Linked DNA regions of Homo sapiens: region 2 is linked to region 1. The links are contacts of gene promoters, found by promoter capture Hi-C in human tissues and cell types (Jung and others, 2019). All regions are on one chromosome and are shown on one strand. The core of a region is centred on a gene start or on the middle of the fragment in contact, and the rest is flanking DNA. Distances in the headings are between cores, read along the strand shown.

Region 1 (6,714 bases), core at 3,315-5,814:
TGTTAGACTATTTAGCCTAGTCTAAATAAATGATATTTTAAGAGAGTGGGAGCGTAGAAGCAGGTCCTTTTGTGAAGCATATTAAAAATATATAATAATGTTCACACATGGGTTTCGTAACTCCCCAGTGGGCTCATCTTGCCTGCTGCCTAGATACAGCCCATTTATCAAGACACAGGAATTATAATACAGAGAGCGTTTAATACACAGAGAGCTGGCTAAACCGAAGACTGGAATTTTTTTTTTTTTTTTTGAGACAGAGTCTTGCTCTGTCACCCAGGCTGAAGCGCAGTGGCTCACTGTGACCTCCCGCCTCCCGGGTTCAAGCAATTCTCCTGTCTCAGCCTCCTGAGTAGTTGGGATTACAGGTGCATGCCACCATGCCTGGCTAATTTTTTTTTTTTTTTTTTTTTTTTTGTATTTTTAGTAGAGACGGGGTTTCACCATGTTGGCCGGGCTGGTATCAAACTCCTGACCTTGTGATCCACCCACCTCGGCCTCCCAAAGTGCTGGGATTACAGGCATGAGCCACCGCGCCAGGCCAGAGTTTTATTATTACTCAAATCAGCCTCCCAGAAAGTTTGGGTGTTTCAAGGATAGTTTTGTCCATGCCCAGGAATGACCAAGGGAAGTTTGGAAGTTAAAGGCAAGATGAAGTTGGTTAGATCAGATCATTAATGAAAGTGGTCTAACTAAATGTTAGATCGCTGTTAACAATGTTTGCAAAGGCGGTTTCAATTCATTCCTGAAAGTTCACATTTTGGGAAAAGAAAATTTCCCAAATTTTGCAGAGGGATGGAGGGTTAGTTTCCTTAAAAGATGGGAAATGTGTATTTCCTTTCCCTCTTCAATCACTGTTGCTAGGTTCAAGTAACTCTAAGGTGCCTCCTCCCCACAGCGTACTGGGGACAGGATCTGCAAATTATCACACCCAGTCTTATCACCAGTTATATAACCTGTAGGCCATTCTCTGACCTCTAAACCTTCCATATCCATTGTTTTGTGGGCTCTCAGCATCACATTCTTTTTCTTAGTCTCTTATTCATTGTATGCCTGCCTCACTCCATGCCCCATAAGGGCATAAATATTACTGATCTTTTTAGCCTGGCCAACATGGGGAAACCCCATCTTTACTAAAAATACAAAAATTAGCCAGGCATAGTGGCACATGCCTGTAATCCCAGCTACTTGGTAGGCTGAGGCACGAGAATCACTTGAACCCAGGATGCGGAGGTTGCAGTGAGCCAAGATCATGCCATTGCATTCCAGCCTGGGTGACACAGTGAGACTCTATCTCAAAAAAAAAAAAAAAAAGAAAAAGAAAAGAAGAGAAAAAAAAATTACTGGTCTTTTAAAAAATTTTTGACATTATTTCAGACATACAGAAAGGTTACAGGAAAAGTTCAAAGAATACTTGTATACTCTTCCCCACTTGTTAATATTTTACATTTGCCACTTGTTTTATGGGTTTTTTTTTTATGTATATACATTGTTATGGACTGAATTGTATCCTCTCCAAAATTCAGTGTTGACACTCTGACCTTGGAATGTGACTCTATTTGGAAATAAGGCCTTTAAAACAATGATTAAAATGGTTAAAATGGGGCTGTTAGGGTAGGCTCTAAATTAATCTGATTGGTTTCTTTATAAGAGGAGATTAAGACATTCGGAGAGGCCGGGCATGGTGGCTCATGCTTATAATCCCAGCACTTTGGGAGGCCAAGACAGGTGAATTCCTTGAGCCCAAGAGTTCAAGGCTTACTTGGGCAACATGGCGAAGCCCGGTCTGTACTAAAAATACAAAAAATTAGGCTGATGTGGTGGCGCATGACTACAGTACCAGCTGCTGGGGAGGCTGAGGTGGAAGGATCACCTGAATCCAGGAGGTTGAGGCTGTAGTGAGCTGAAGGCGCACCATTGCACTCCAGCCTGGGCGACGAGAGTGAGACCATGTCTCAAAACAACAACAAAAAAAGTAAAATAATAAAAGATATTCAGAGAGAGACGTCAGGGTTGCATGTGCACACACAGAAAAGGCCATAACACAGCAGGCATGCAGCCCTCTGTAAGCCAAGGACTGCAAGCCTCAGGAGAAACCAATCCTGCCAACACCTTGACCTTCGCTTCTAGCCCCCAGAACTGTTAGAAAATACATTTCTTTCTTTTTTTTTTTTTTTTAGATCGAGTCTCACTGTTGCCCAGGCTAAAGTGCAGTGGTGCGATCTCGGCTCACTGCAACGTCGGCCTCCTGGATTCTAGCAATTCTCCTGCCTCAGTCTCTCAAGTAGCTGGGATTACAGGCATGTGAAACCATGCCTGGCTAATTTTTATATTTTTAGTAGAGACAGGGTTTCACCATGTTGGCCAGGGTGGTCTCAAAATCCTGATCTGAGGTGATCCGCCTGCCTCAGCCTCCCAAAGTGCTGGGATTACAGGCGTGAGCCACTGCACTCAGCCCATTTCTGTTGTTTAAATGACTCAGTCTGTGTTATTTTGTTATGGCAGCCCTAGCCAACTTATACATACAAAGCATTATTTTTTTCTGAACTATTCAAAAGTAAGTTACAGACATGGTCCTTTAGTACTAGAAGCAAGTGCAATATATTCTCTTACATTACTGCATGCGATTAGCTAACACTGATAAAATGCTATTAGCTAGTTGCAGACTTTATTCATATTTTGCCAATTGTCCTATAATGTCATCTATAGCAAAAGAGAGAAAAAAAGAAGCAAGAAAGAGAAAAAAAGAAAGACAAAAAGTTTTGGGTCCAGAATCCAATCCAGAATCAAACAGCATTTAGCTGTCATGCCTAGGCTCCTTTAATGGAGAACAGTTTCTCATTCTTTGTCTTTCATGGCCTTGGAGCTGTCAAGAGTACAAGCAATTTATCTTGTAGAATATCTCTCACTTTGGGCTTGTCTGATATTTCCTTGTGAATAGATTAAGATCTACTAGTGTGTTCCAAAGCTTTACAACTGTTTTTTTTCCTGGACAGTTTTAACATTCTAGGTCTGTGATCTTTCTTCTCAATGTGAAATGAGGAATCTGTAACCGTTTTTAGGAGACTCATTGGTTTAGGAAAATCACCTTATTAAATTTACAGACTTGTTAAGAGCTACGAAGTGATGTGTCTCCTCAATGGATCCTATCAGAAGGCATATATGTGTGTTCCCTTACTGGGTGGTGCTAACTTTGATCACGTGGTTGAAGCAGTAACTGTCATGTTTCTTCACTGTAAATTTACCATTTTCCTTTCCTTCCTGGAGGCTAGAAGTAAAGGTCAAGGTGTTGACAGGATTGGTTTCCCCTGTTCTTTGTTTGTTTGTTTTGTTTTTTGAGACAGAGTCTTTTTGTTGCCCAGGCTGAAGTGCAGTGGCACAGTCTCGGCTCCCTGCAACCTCTGCCTCCCAGATTCAAGCGATTCTCATGCCTCAGTCTCCCCAGTAGCTGGGATTACAGCGTCCGCCACGATGCTCAGATAATTTTTTGTGTTTTTAGTAGAGACGGGGGTTTCAACACATTGGCCAGGCTGGTCTCGAACTCCTGGCCTCAGGTGATCCGTCCGCCTTGGCCTCCCAAAGAGCTGGGGATTACAGAAGTGAGCCACCGCGCCCTGCCCTCCTTAAGTTTCCTTGCGGGAGAGATACTTTGAGACTATGCAAAAAGTTTGCGGGAAAAAATACAGGAAGCCCAGTTGAATCTGAATTCCAGATAAGCCATAAATAAAGTATAAATATGACCTCCCAAAGTGTTTATCTAAAATTCTGATTTGATTGGGCATCTTGTGTTTTTATTTGCTAGATCTGGCAACCCTATATGTAAATATCTTGCTCCTCATCCAACTTTCACCCAGTTGTTTTGACATCTATTGCTGCTTCTGAATCAGGGTTGCACATGCAACCCTGACGTCTGTCTCTGAATATCTTTTATGATTTTACTTTTTTTGTTGTTGTTTTGAGATATGGTCTCACTCTCGTCGCCCAGGCTGGAGTGCAGTGGCGCGCCTTCAGCTCACTGCAGCCTCAACCTCCTGAACTCAGGTGATCCTTCCACCTCAGCCTCCCCAGTAGCTGGTACTGTAGTCACGCGCCACCATGTACTGATTTTGGAAAATGGTGATTTTCTAACTCCATCATTCCTTTTACTTCTGTTCGTTGGCATTCTATCAGCTTGTCTTTTCATCCACCCTTTACAGTGCTTGGCACACAGTAGGCGCTCATATAATTGTTCAACGAATGAATGAATGAACTTTTCTCTTGTGTTGTCCGGCCTTCGGTGACACTAGCGGCGTCAGGCAGGAGTTTGACTTCCTCAGCCTATCATGGCACGTTGCCGAGGCTTCAGCGCCTTACAGGACCTCGCTCCAGGCTCTTCTGGCTCCAATCAAAAGCAGGGCTCTTTCGGACTTCGCTTACGTTTAATAAAGAAAACCGGTTGGCCCCTTCGGCTCCACCTGGCTCAACAGACAGCCAGTGGCATGCGGCAGGGACCAATGGGTGGCGGAGGGAGGCGGGGCCTGCCACGAGGCCGCAGTATAACCGCGTGGCCCGCGCGCGCGCTTCCCTCCCGGCGCAGTCACCGGCGCGGTCTATGGCTGCGACTTCTCTAATGTCTGCTTTGGCTGCCCGGCTGCTGCAGCCCGCGCACAGCTGCTCCCTTCGCCTTCGCCCTTTCCACCTCGCGGCAGTTCGGTAAGAGGGTCACAGAGCTCGGTCAGCGCGGAAAGCTGAGGGGAACGGAGGGCGAGGGGCACGCCGGGCCCCCGAGGGACACCGAGGGAAGTCCTTCCCGAACATCTCCGCCCCGGCGGTGGTGGCCGCTGAGGGGTGTGGCGGGGCGACGTGGCACCGAGCGCCGCCGCAGCTCTCGACTGGGGCGCTTCCTCGGCGCGGAGGGCTGGTACCCGAAGCCCGCCTTTCGGAGGGAGCCGCTCTCCTGCGACTCGGGGCGTCGCCGGGGCCCGTGGCCAGTCGGCGGGCGGGACGGGGGTGGCGTGCGGAACGCGAAGGCATCAGTTTACGCGGAGCCTTCCGACAGCGCCGGCCGCCTCTGGCTGGGATGCTGAGAGTCGTCTGGGGGAGAACAGGCGAGGGTTCCAAAAGAGCAGCCCTCGGCGAGTTGTCCTTGCGGGGACCCTAGCGGCGGAGGGCGCTGCTGCAGCTGATGAAATCGCGGAGCCGACTTGCTCGGGGTCCCCGCGCCGCCCTCCTCCCTCCGCCGGTGGGAGTGGCCCGCGCTGCCTCCGCTCTGCCAGGAACATGAACGGACTCTGGGCACCCTAGCTTTGGCTGCAGCCCACCAGAGCCTGTCAGTGCCGGGCTGCGTACATAGAGGTGGCAAACATCCGGGAGGCTCCCAGGGCCTTAGGGAAAGGGGGAATGGAGAGTGACAAGTACCCATATTTCAGCGGTACTTGCAGAATTTCAGTTTTACAAGATGAAGAGTTCTGAAGATGGATGGTGGTGATGGTTGCACAACATATGAACGTATTTAATACCACTGAACTGCACTTAAAAATGGTTAAGATGGGCCGGGCGTGGTGACACGCGCCGAGGCTGAGGCACGAGAATCGCTTGAGCCCAGGAGTTCGAGGCTGCAGTGAGCCGTGATTGCACCACTGCCCTCCAGTCTGGGCGACAGAGCGAGACCCTGTCTCAAAAAAAAAAAAAAAAAAAAAAGTTGATAAGGTTTATGTTATGTGAATTTTACCACAATAACAAAATTGGGAAAAATATACAGGGGAGGAGGAAAGGAAAAGCTCTGTTTGCATTTTTGGGTTTCCTTGGGAAGGTGATTTGGTCGGTCATTAGAGCGCTGGCATTGTTGGCATTGTTAGAGCCCTGCACCTTACAACATCAGCCCCTTCTTTTTTTCATCTAACGTTCACTGTGTACCAGACACTATGCCAAGCTGTGCGAATTCAAAGATGAGAAAAACTGTTCTTAATGGAGCTCATGTTCCTGACAAGGGGCAGAACACGCGTGTAATTTCCAGTCAGTGCGGAAATGCTGTTAGAAATATTTCAAAGGCGCTGCTTGTTGGAGCAATGAGTTCTTGAAGGAAAACGTGGGAGGGGACTTTCAGGGTTTTCCCTGGTCTGACTCTTGACCTCCCCCATGTTTCGTTACTGTGTGTTTTCTCCCCTTCTCCCTCTTCCTGAGTGCTGGCCTCATGTGACTGTGGACCAGACCTTTCCTAGGCTTCCATGGTCCAAAAGAGATTTATAAAGATGCTCTCATTCATTACCTAAAGAACTGGGCCAGTTTGTCTACACTCTCCAATAACAAATGCTCTTTTCACTACCTTTCTGAAAGAACAAGTAAGCTTCATCCACATCTCTGAAAGCAATCCATATTATCTGTACTGCACATTTGCTATTTACAATTCCCACATATTGCTTTCTTACTGCTGCTTATTTTTTAAAATACTGTTTATTTTTAAATACTGCTTATTTTTAAAAAGTTGTATCCTTTTAAAAATATGAGTCTGCATTCTTTTTTTTTTTTTCTTTGTTGGATGGTATGAGAGTTTCAGGAACATAAACCTATGGTTGGAGAAATAGTAGCCTAGGAGACAGTGGGATTAGGAAGTCAATGGACTTTAGAGGCAGAAGTTTGCCTTTGAATCTTGTTTCTACTATCCTCAGTTTCATCTTCTGTATTACAGTGTTATTATAATAGTCCCAAGGTAACAGAGTAATATATGTTAAAGTG
Region 2 (7,612 bases), core at 4,376-6,875, 74 kb after region 1:
AGTAATCATGGACTTTTAAATTACTACAAATGAAATAACATTCTTCATTTTTTAATACTGGCAAAAGTTAAAAAGATTGACAACTTCCTGTGTCAGTGAAAACATGGGGAGGTGGCCTCTCATCTGCTGCAGGTGTAATGACACAGCCTTCCTGGTGTGGGCAGCCTGTTTCAACATTCAGTGTGCATGCCTTTTGACCCAGTGGTTCGATTTCTAGGAAACGATCACAGGAATATAATTACACTGCCACACCCTGTAATATGTATACAAGGACGCTCGATGAAGCTTTGTCTGTTAGGCCAAAGAACTGGAAACCACCAGGTTTTCAGTAGAAGCATGATTACATCAATTCTGTATGTCCATGTTGTGGAATATCCCCCAGAAATAAATAAAAAATATGTGGGTGAACTCACATACTGACAGGACGGACACTACCATCCCATTTTATAAAAAAGAAAAACACACTTGTGTGTGTGCACACATGTGTCTGGAGAAAGCAAAAGTTTTGGAGGGATCCATGTCAAATGGTTAACAATGATTACTTTGAGCAGAGGAGTAGGATTGTTGTTGGGGCGGGATTTAAGACTTTCACTTTATTGGGGCGAATTAGTGTAGCAAGAGTGCAGTCTGGTTAGGCTGGGTGAGGTGGCTCACGCCTGTGATTCCAGCACTTTGGGAGGCCCAGGTGGGTGGATCGCCTGTGCTCAGGAGTTTGAGACCAGCCTGGGCAACATGGTGAAACCCTGACTCTACCAAAAAACCCAAAAAATTAGCTGGGCATGGTGGCACACAGCTGTGGTCCCAGCTTCTTGGGAGGATCACTTGAGCCTGGAAGGCAGAGGTTGCAGTGAGCCGAGATGGCACCACTGCACTCCAGCCTGGGTAACAGAGTGAGAGTCCGTCTACATTTTTTTTTTTTTTAAAAAAGAGCACAGTCTATGAAGCAACACTATTAGGTTTTGAATAACAGCTCCATCATTTACTAGCTGAAAATCTCGAGTAAGTTACTTAATCTCTCATCACCTTTGATTTCTTCAGTAATAATAATAATGTACAGCAATTAGAGCAGTGCCTAGCACACAAGATACACTCTGTTAATGTTAGCTATTAAGTTAAAAATAAAGAATATTACTTTTGTAATTTTAGGAACAATAAAAAAAGAAGAAAGCAAAGTCATTCAAAGCTCCTCCAACCAGGAGGCATCATGCTGATGTCTTGATGGTTGATATTTTGGTAACTGCCATTCTAGATCTCCTCGTGCATGCATGCACATATGCCTGTGTTTGCATTAACTGTACATTAATGGCACCACAAGGACCTTAAGGGTATAGTATCTAATGGACATCCTTTCATCTCTATTAGTATTAACATCATTCTGAAGTCCTTCTAGTATTCCACTGTCTGAATGTACCATAATTGATAGGAACAGTTCTCAACTGGTAGACATTCAGATTATTTCTAATTATTCTTTATTATTAATTAAGGCTGGTTGGAACATCCTTGGTTCCTGCTCCACAATTTCTTTAGGATAAACTCTCAGAAGTGGAATTACTGTGTCTGCACATTTTTACATTTATAACAAGCATTACCAAACTGTTTTCCAGAAAGCTTATGTCAGTGCCCACTGCCACCAATGAGATCTTACATTTCCCTAAAGTCTCCCAGACTTTGGTATTTTCATTCTTTTTCACCTTTGTTCATTTGGTAGTTGAAAAATTATCTCACATTTGCACTCTTCTGATTACTAGTGAGATTGAACATCTTTTCCTTCATCAGATTTCCTCTTCACGTAACTGTATATTTTGCATTATCTATGTTTAACACCTTCATTCCATACATTTATTTGAGACAAGTTAACCAGGCACCTGGTGGGATCCTGGGGAATCAGATGGACACAGAATGGGGAGATCTAATTAGAGAAGGACTGGGAGGTGAAGACCTGAAACATGGGGGCTGGAGCCAGAGACCAGGCAGACAAGTTGTAGCTGACCTTTTTGTGGAGAAATCTGTTTGGGAAATATCATTTAAATTATGGCAGATCCAAGACTATGTGATATCGAAAGTAAGATGTTTCTAAAAGGTATATTAACATAAGAGTTTACAAGGAATAGACCAAAGGATAAGTTCAAAATTTTTTTTTTTTTGAGACGGAGTTTCACTCTCATCGCCCAGGCTGGAGTGCAATGGTGCAAGCTTGGCTCACTGCAACCTCTGCCTCCGTGGTTCAAGTGATCTCCTGTTTCAGCCTCCTGAGTAGCTGGGATTACAGGTGCCTGCCACCAGGCCCGGCTGTTTGTTTTTTGTTTGTTTGTTTGTTTGTTTGTTTGTTTTTTAGTAGAGACAGGGTTTCATTATGTTGGTCAGGCTGGTCTCAAATTCCTGACCTCAGGTGGTCCACCCACCTCCGCCTCTAAAAGTGCTGGGATTACAGGCGTGAGCCACCGCGCCCGGCCAGTCCAAATGTTTTAGTTGAGAGGATGCTCAACTTTTCTTCCTGAGGATCGACCTCCTATTCAGCTTGCCTTTTATTGTTTTTTTTTTCTCAAAAATAATACAAAAGATAAACTGAACTGTCACCCTGCTCCCAAAGACTCTTTTGCTACTCCATGGTCTTACCCACCCACCTAAAGGTGTGATGTGGCCCAGTGCATGGGGCCAGTTGAGTGGGTTGCTGTCTTCACTGTCTCACAAACATCCTAGGCCAGACAGTCTCAGGCAGCTCTCTCCCCTGACATCCCATTCTTCAGTCTTCTGCCCATACAAATGCAACTCCACCTGAAGGAGTGATAAGAGCAATGCTTCCTCTTTGAAACATCCTCTACTAACTCCAGATAGCAGATAGCAAAGACATGCAGTCCTCTCCACCTCTCAGGACTTCAACTATTTGTACTGTGTTAGGCATACACCAAACATTAACCCCATAGACACACAGACAAGGGCGATAACCCACATGAGAATAGCCTGCATAAACACTAAATTACTTGTCTCCAATTTTAAGCCAATGCCAGAACTAGACTCTGCTACCAGAATCCAGAAAATTTGATTTAAGAAATTCCGGAATATGAGACCATTTAACTAGGGACACCGCTCTAGTCCCCTCTATAACTATTTTGGGAATCCAGATGTTGAACCATTAAGCTTGCTACCTGGAACTTAATTTTGTGTTTTCAATGGCTACAGCTAGAAATTTAGCTCACTTTCACCTTGAATGGAAAAGGAAACATGGAGGACCAAAGATCCATAGCAATGGTTTTCAACCTTGGCTGTCCATTAGAATAACTTGGAGAGATTTATAAAAATACCAATGCCTGGGGCTGGGCGCGGTGGCTCATGCCTGTAATCCCAGCACTTTGGGAGGCAGAGGCAGGCGGATCACGAGGTCAGGAGATCGAGACCATCCTGGCTAACATGGTGAAACCCTGTCTCTACTAAAAATACAAAAAATTAGCCAGGCGTGGTGGCAGGCGCTTGTAGTCCCAGCTACTCAGGAGGCTGAGGCAGGAGAATGGCGTGAACCCGGGAGGCGGAGCTTGCAGTGAGCAGAGATCATGCCACTGCACTCCAACCTGGATGACAGAGCGAGACTCCGTCTCAAAACAAAACAAAACAAAACAAAAACCAATGCCTGGATGGTTACCCCACCAGGAGGGTGACCCTGCCATGGAAACTCCCGGGTTATCTGACTGCACCCTGTGGGTTCAGGAGCCCCTGCTCTGTAGGTACATAGAATGGTGTGACTTAGGGATAGTTCAACTTATATGGGGTCCCAACGCAGGCAAACGTAGCTCACATGGATCTGATTCTCATTATACAGCAGGACATGGCCTCTTTCCCTTAGAATGGCTCCAAGAACACTAGCTGAAAGGGTCTCCTTTCTAGCACAGTCATGCTATGCTTTAGTTTCTCTGATTTTATAACTGAAGTCCATTTACAGTACATATTCTACTACACCAGTGTGCCTCAAACTCTAATGTGCATGGGGATCTTGTCAAAATGCAGATCCTCATTGAGCAGGTCTGGAATGAGGTCAAAGATTCTACATTTCTAATAAGCTCCTAGGTGTGCTCATGCTGCTGGTCTGCAGATCACCTCTGAGATCATGTAGAATGTCCTCTTTCCTCTCTGTTTTCCACTGCCCAGCGAGAATGCCCCTTCCTCCACAAAGCCTCTGCCAGTTATTCTGCTTATTTCTCCTATAACACCCTAGGATGGTTCTCAACCTGAAGCACTTTAGAAACCACTGTTCTAGGACAGTGATTCTTAAGCTTGCTTGCATATAAGAATACCCTAGATGCCTTTAAAATCTTCATGTCTCAGTCATATCCTAGACCAGTTGACATCAGAATAAAAACGGGTGGGATCCAGGCAACTCTGTGCTCCAGACTATCCTAGGTAAAGTTTCTAACTTCTTAGGCTCAGAGCCTAAAATAATTAATTAATTCAGGCTCAGTGCCTAAATTAATAATTAATTGTAGCCAATCATGTTTTATGATTGTTTTGGTATATAACAAATGCCAAATATACATTAAGCTTTTTGAAGACAGGTGCCATTTCTTCCTCTCTGGTGTCCCCTTATGGTCTCCTGCCCAGATCAATTGCATTAAATGCTTGCTCCCTTCTGCTTGAGGGTAGCAAGACCTCACTGATCACTTTGGGTGAGATCTCGCTATGAGGAAATGACTGGGGAAAAAAAGCTTAAAACTCATTTTGTTTAAGTATATTTAAAAATACTCAGAAGCCGGGCATGGTGGCTCACACTTGTAATCCCAGCGCTCTGGGAGGCTGAGGTGGGAGGATTGCTTGAGACCTGCCTGAGAAACAAAGCAAGACTCCACTATACAAAAAATAAAATAATTAGCCAGGTGTGGTGGCATATGCCTGTAGTCCCAGCTACTCAGGAGGCTGAGGTAGGAGGATTAAGTCCAGGAGTTTGAGGCTGCAGTGAGCTGTGATCGCACCACTGCAATGAAGCTGAAGTGACAGAGAAAGACCCTATCTCTAAAAAGAAAGAAAGAGGCCTTATCTTTTAGAGACATAATGAAATATTTACAGATGGAATGATGTGGTGTCTGGGATTTGTGTCAACCTGACCTAGCATGTGTGTCTGTGTGTCTGGGGTAGTAGGTGGGGGACAGAGAAACAAGAATTGCTATGAGTTAGCTGTTAACTGTTGAAGCTGGGTGATGGGCAGGTGGGGGTTCATTCTGCTATATACTACTTTTGTATAAATTTGAATTTTCCATAATAAAATCCTTAAACATTCTCCAGAATGAATAAAGGAATGGCCTCTGTAAAAAGCCTCTGGTCAAAGCCAAGTTTAAAAACTTGCAAAAGCCTGATAATAAGGTTCATGTGTAATCCCAAACAACTCATTGCAAAGTGAACTGTGTACCATGGTTGGCTTCAAAAAGTGGGGTATTAGAGTTGGGGAAGCAGGTCAAGTGGAAAGAAAATCTCCACGTTCTCCTTCATTATCCAGCAAAGCTTTAACTTTTAGGGATTTTGCCCAAGCTTGGGTGTAGACCCCCAACTCTGCATGCCAGGGTGGGCACCAGGTGCCCCGCTCCTGACTGGAATGTAGCTAAAAGGAACCTTGAAATGTCACTTGTCACAGAAAGCAGCTCTCTGTCACACAAAGCAGGGCCAGAACTGAGGCCTTTTCTGTGCCTAGTAACTCGGTCAGAGATATAATTAGAGGACATTGCTGTTCAATTAATAACAAGAGCAGGAGAAAGCATCATGGCGCTAGCTACCAGGTACAGTCAAGGCTTCCAATGCTCAAACCACAGGATGGGAGAAGAGGAGGTTCTCCTTCAAGGAGGATCTGGAAAGGGCTGAAAACCAAGAGACCTCTATTCTAGTTGTCTCCTCAGATGGAAACTTCGTAACTCCCACTGATCCTGCTGGGCTAGAGTAAGTATCAGCAGTTTTCAATGGCTGCATTAGGATCATCTGGGAGCTTTTTACAAATTCTAAAACCCAGGCTGAATCTCAGACTAATTACATCAGAATCTCAGGGGACTGACAATCAGACATCAATATTTTTTAAAAGGAAGACACAGATCCTTGAGATGATAAAACAACAGGCTGCCCATTATGTGTAGTTAGATAAGAGTAAAATCTGGAGAATATACATAAACATTGTGATTGAAGAGAAGCTTCTATCTATACTATTTTGAATATCATTATAATTAAATAGTGTCTTGGTTAGTTTGTTTGCAAAATCCCCCCTAGGACATTCTAATTTAAAAAATGTAATCTCCCAATGTATGTAACCTTTAATGCTAAGGCTATGTTGCCTCCAAACATTTGTTTTAAGAATTACATTTGTGTGAATTTGTTTCTTTCATGAAGTTTACTCAGCTAAAATTTGTAAAGTATATATCCCTGTGGTCACTCTATCTATGTGGCCTCACCAACTTTATTCTGTAACTCTCCCACCCCGCCCCATTACCCAAAAGCTTGACTTCTGTGTATTAGTTACAAAGCATCAAGACATGTTTGTGCTTTCTGCCTAAGGCCTGTAATACATTTTGTAACTCCAACAAATTCATTTCTTAAAAGTAAGAAATGTAAGTTTTCCTTCAATATCCAGCAAAGTTTTTTAACTTCATATGAGTCATATCAGGATACTGAATTTCCCAACAGATACTGAAGACCAGTATTAATTCACTTAGAAGCCCGTTAAGAATTTTCCTAGAGATGTCTGAGGAATCATCAGATACTCCCCTGGTTCAGTCTTTGACAGAGGCACTAAAAAATGATCTGTGGAAGGAAGATTTTTCAAAAGGGGAACACCTGAGGCCGGGCCTGGTGGCTCACGCCTATAATCCCAGCACTTTGGGAGGCCAAGGCAGGCAGATCCCTTGAGGTCAGGAGTTTTGAGACCAGCCTGGCCAACATGGCAAAACCCTGTCTGTACTAAAAATACAAAGATTAGCCAGGCGTGGTTGTGCATGCCTGTAATCCCAGCTACTCCCAGCCAAGCACTATGCTAAGCACTTAACATGTATTATCTCATCTAATCCTTAAATCTATCTCACGAGGTAGGTCTGTGACTATTCTCATTGTACAGGTGAGGAGACTGAGACCCTTAGAGGATGAGGAGCCTGCCCAAGGTGGCTGAGGCAGGAGAATCACTTGAGCCCAGCAGGCGGAAGTTACAGTGAGCTGAGATGGTGCCACTGCACTCTAGCCTGGGCAACAGAGCAAGACTCTGTCTCAAAAAAACGGGAGAAACACCTAAGCAAATTCTGGCCCATTCTTACAATTTATTTGGCTAATTCATGCTACATAAAATCACATGCATGAAAATATGTATGTGAGATAGTACAACAAGTTGTTTCTACAACGGATTATGACTTTGCATACCATGTATATGTTAATAAACCAAACTTGGCAGTAAATTTGAAAGATTATAAAGTATAAAAGACTGAGGGGGCAGGCATGGGTCAAGGGTCAGCACACATATGGAGAAGTTCAGAAGCTACCAGAAGGGGCTGATGAGCACCAGAAAGGCCTCACAGGCCTCTTGGGGCACCCACCCCGGTCCAGGCTCAGAAATTTTATCTTTTTAGTGTCCCAAAGATGATTAGGTCCAGTGACACTGTCT

Evidence for each region. Contacts are between HindIII fragments. The study calls those that stand out against the background at their distance.
Region 2: a fragment that was not itself captured here is called in contact with the fragment with the promoter of MTHFD2 in region 1 in 2 of the 25 tissues and cell types used here (adrenal gland and mesenchymal stem cells).

What each region holds. Positions count from the first base shown.
Region 1 is chr2:74,194,051-74,200,764 of GRCh38, forward strand. It overlaps MTHFD2 (methylenetetrahydrofolate dehydrogenase (NADP+ dependent) 2, methenyltetrahydrofolate cyclohydrolase), which reads left to right and starts at 4,565. Exons shown (of 8, transcript NM_006636.4): 1 at 4,565-4,692. The coding sequence starts at 4,592. RefSeq lists an enhancer at 4,227-4,785 and silencers at 4,494-4,633, 4,824-5,103, 5,234-5,323. The HindIII fragment of the contact is 7,235 bases long and covers 637-6,714 here.
Region 2 is chr2:74,267,080-74,274,691 of GRCh38, forward strand. The region is part of intron 8 of SLC4A5 (solute carrier family 4 member 5); the gene reads right to left. Among named protein-coding and RNA genes, the nearest start is that of MTHFD2, 72 kb to the left of the region's middle. RefSeq lists an enhancer at 104-183. The HindIII fragment of the contact is 3,848 bases long and covers 3,702-7,549 here.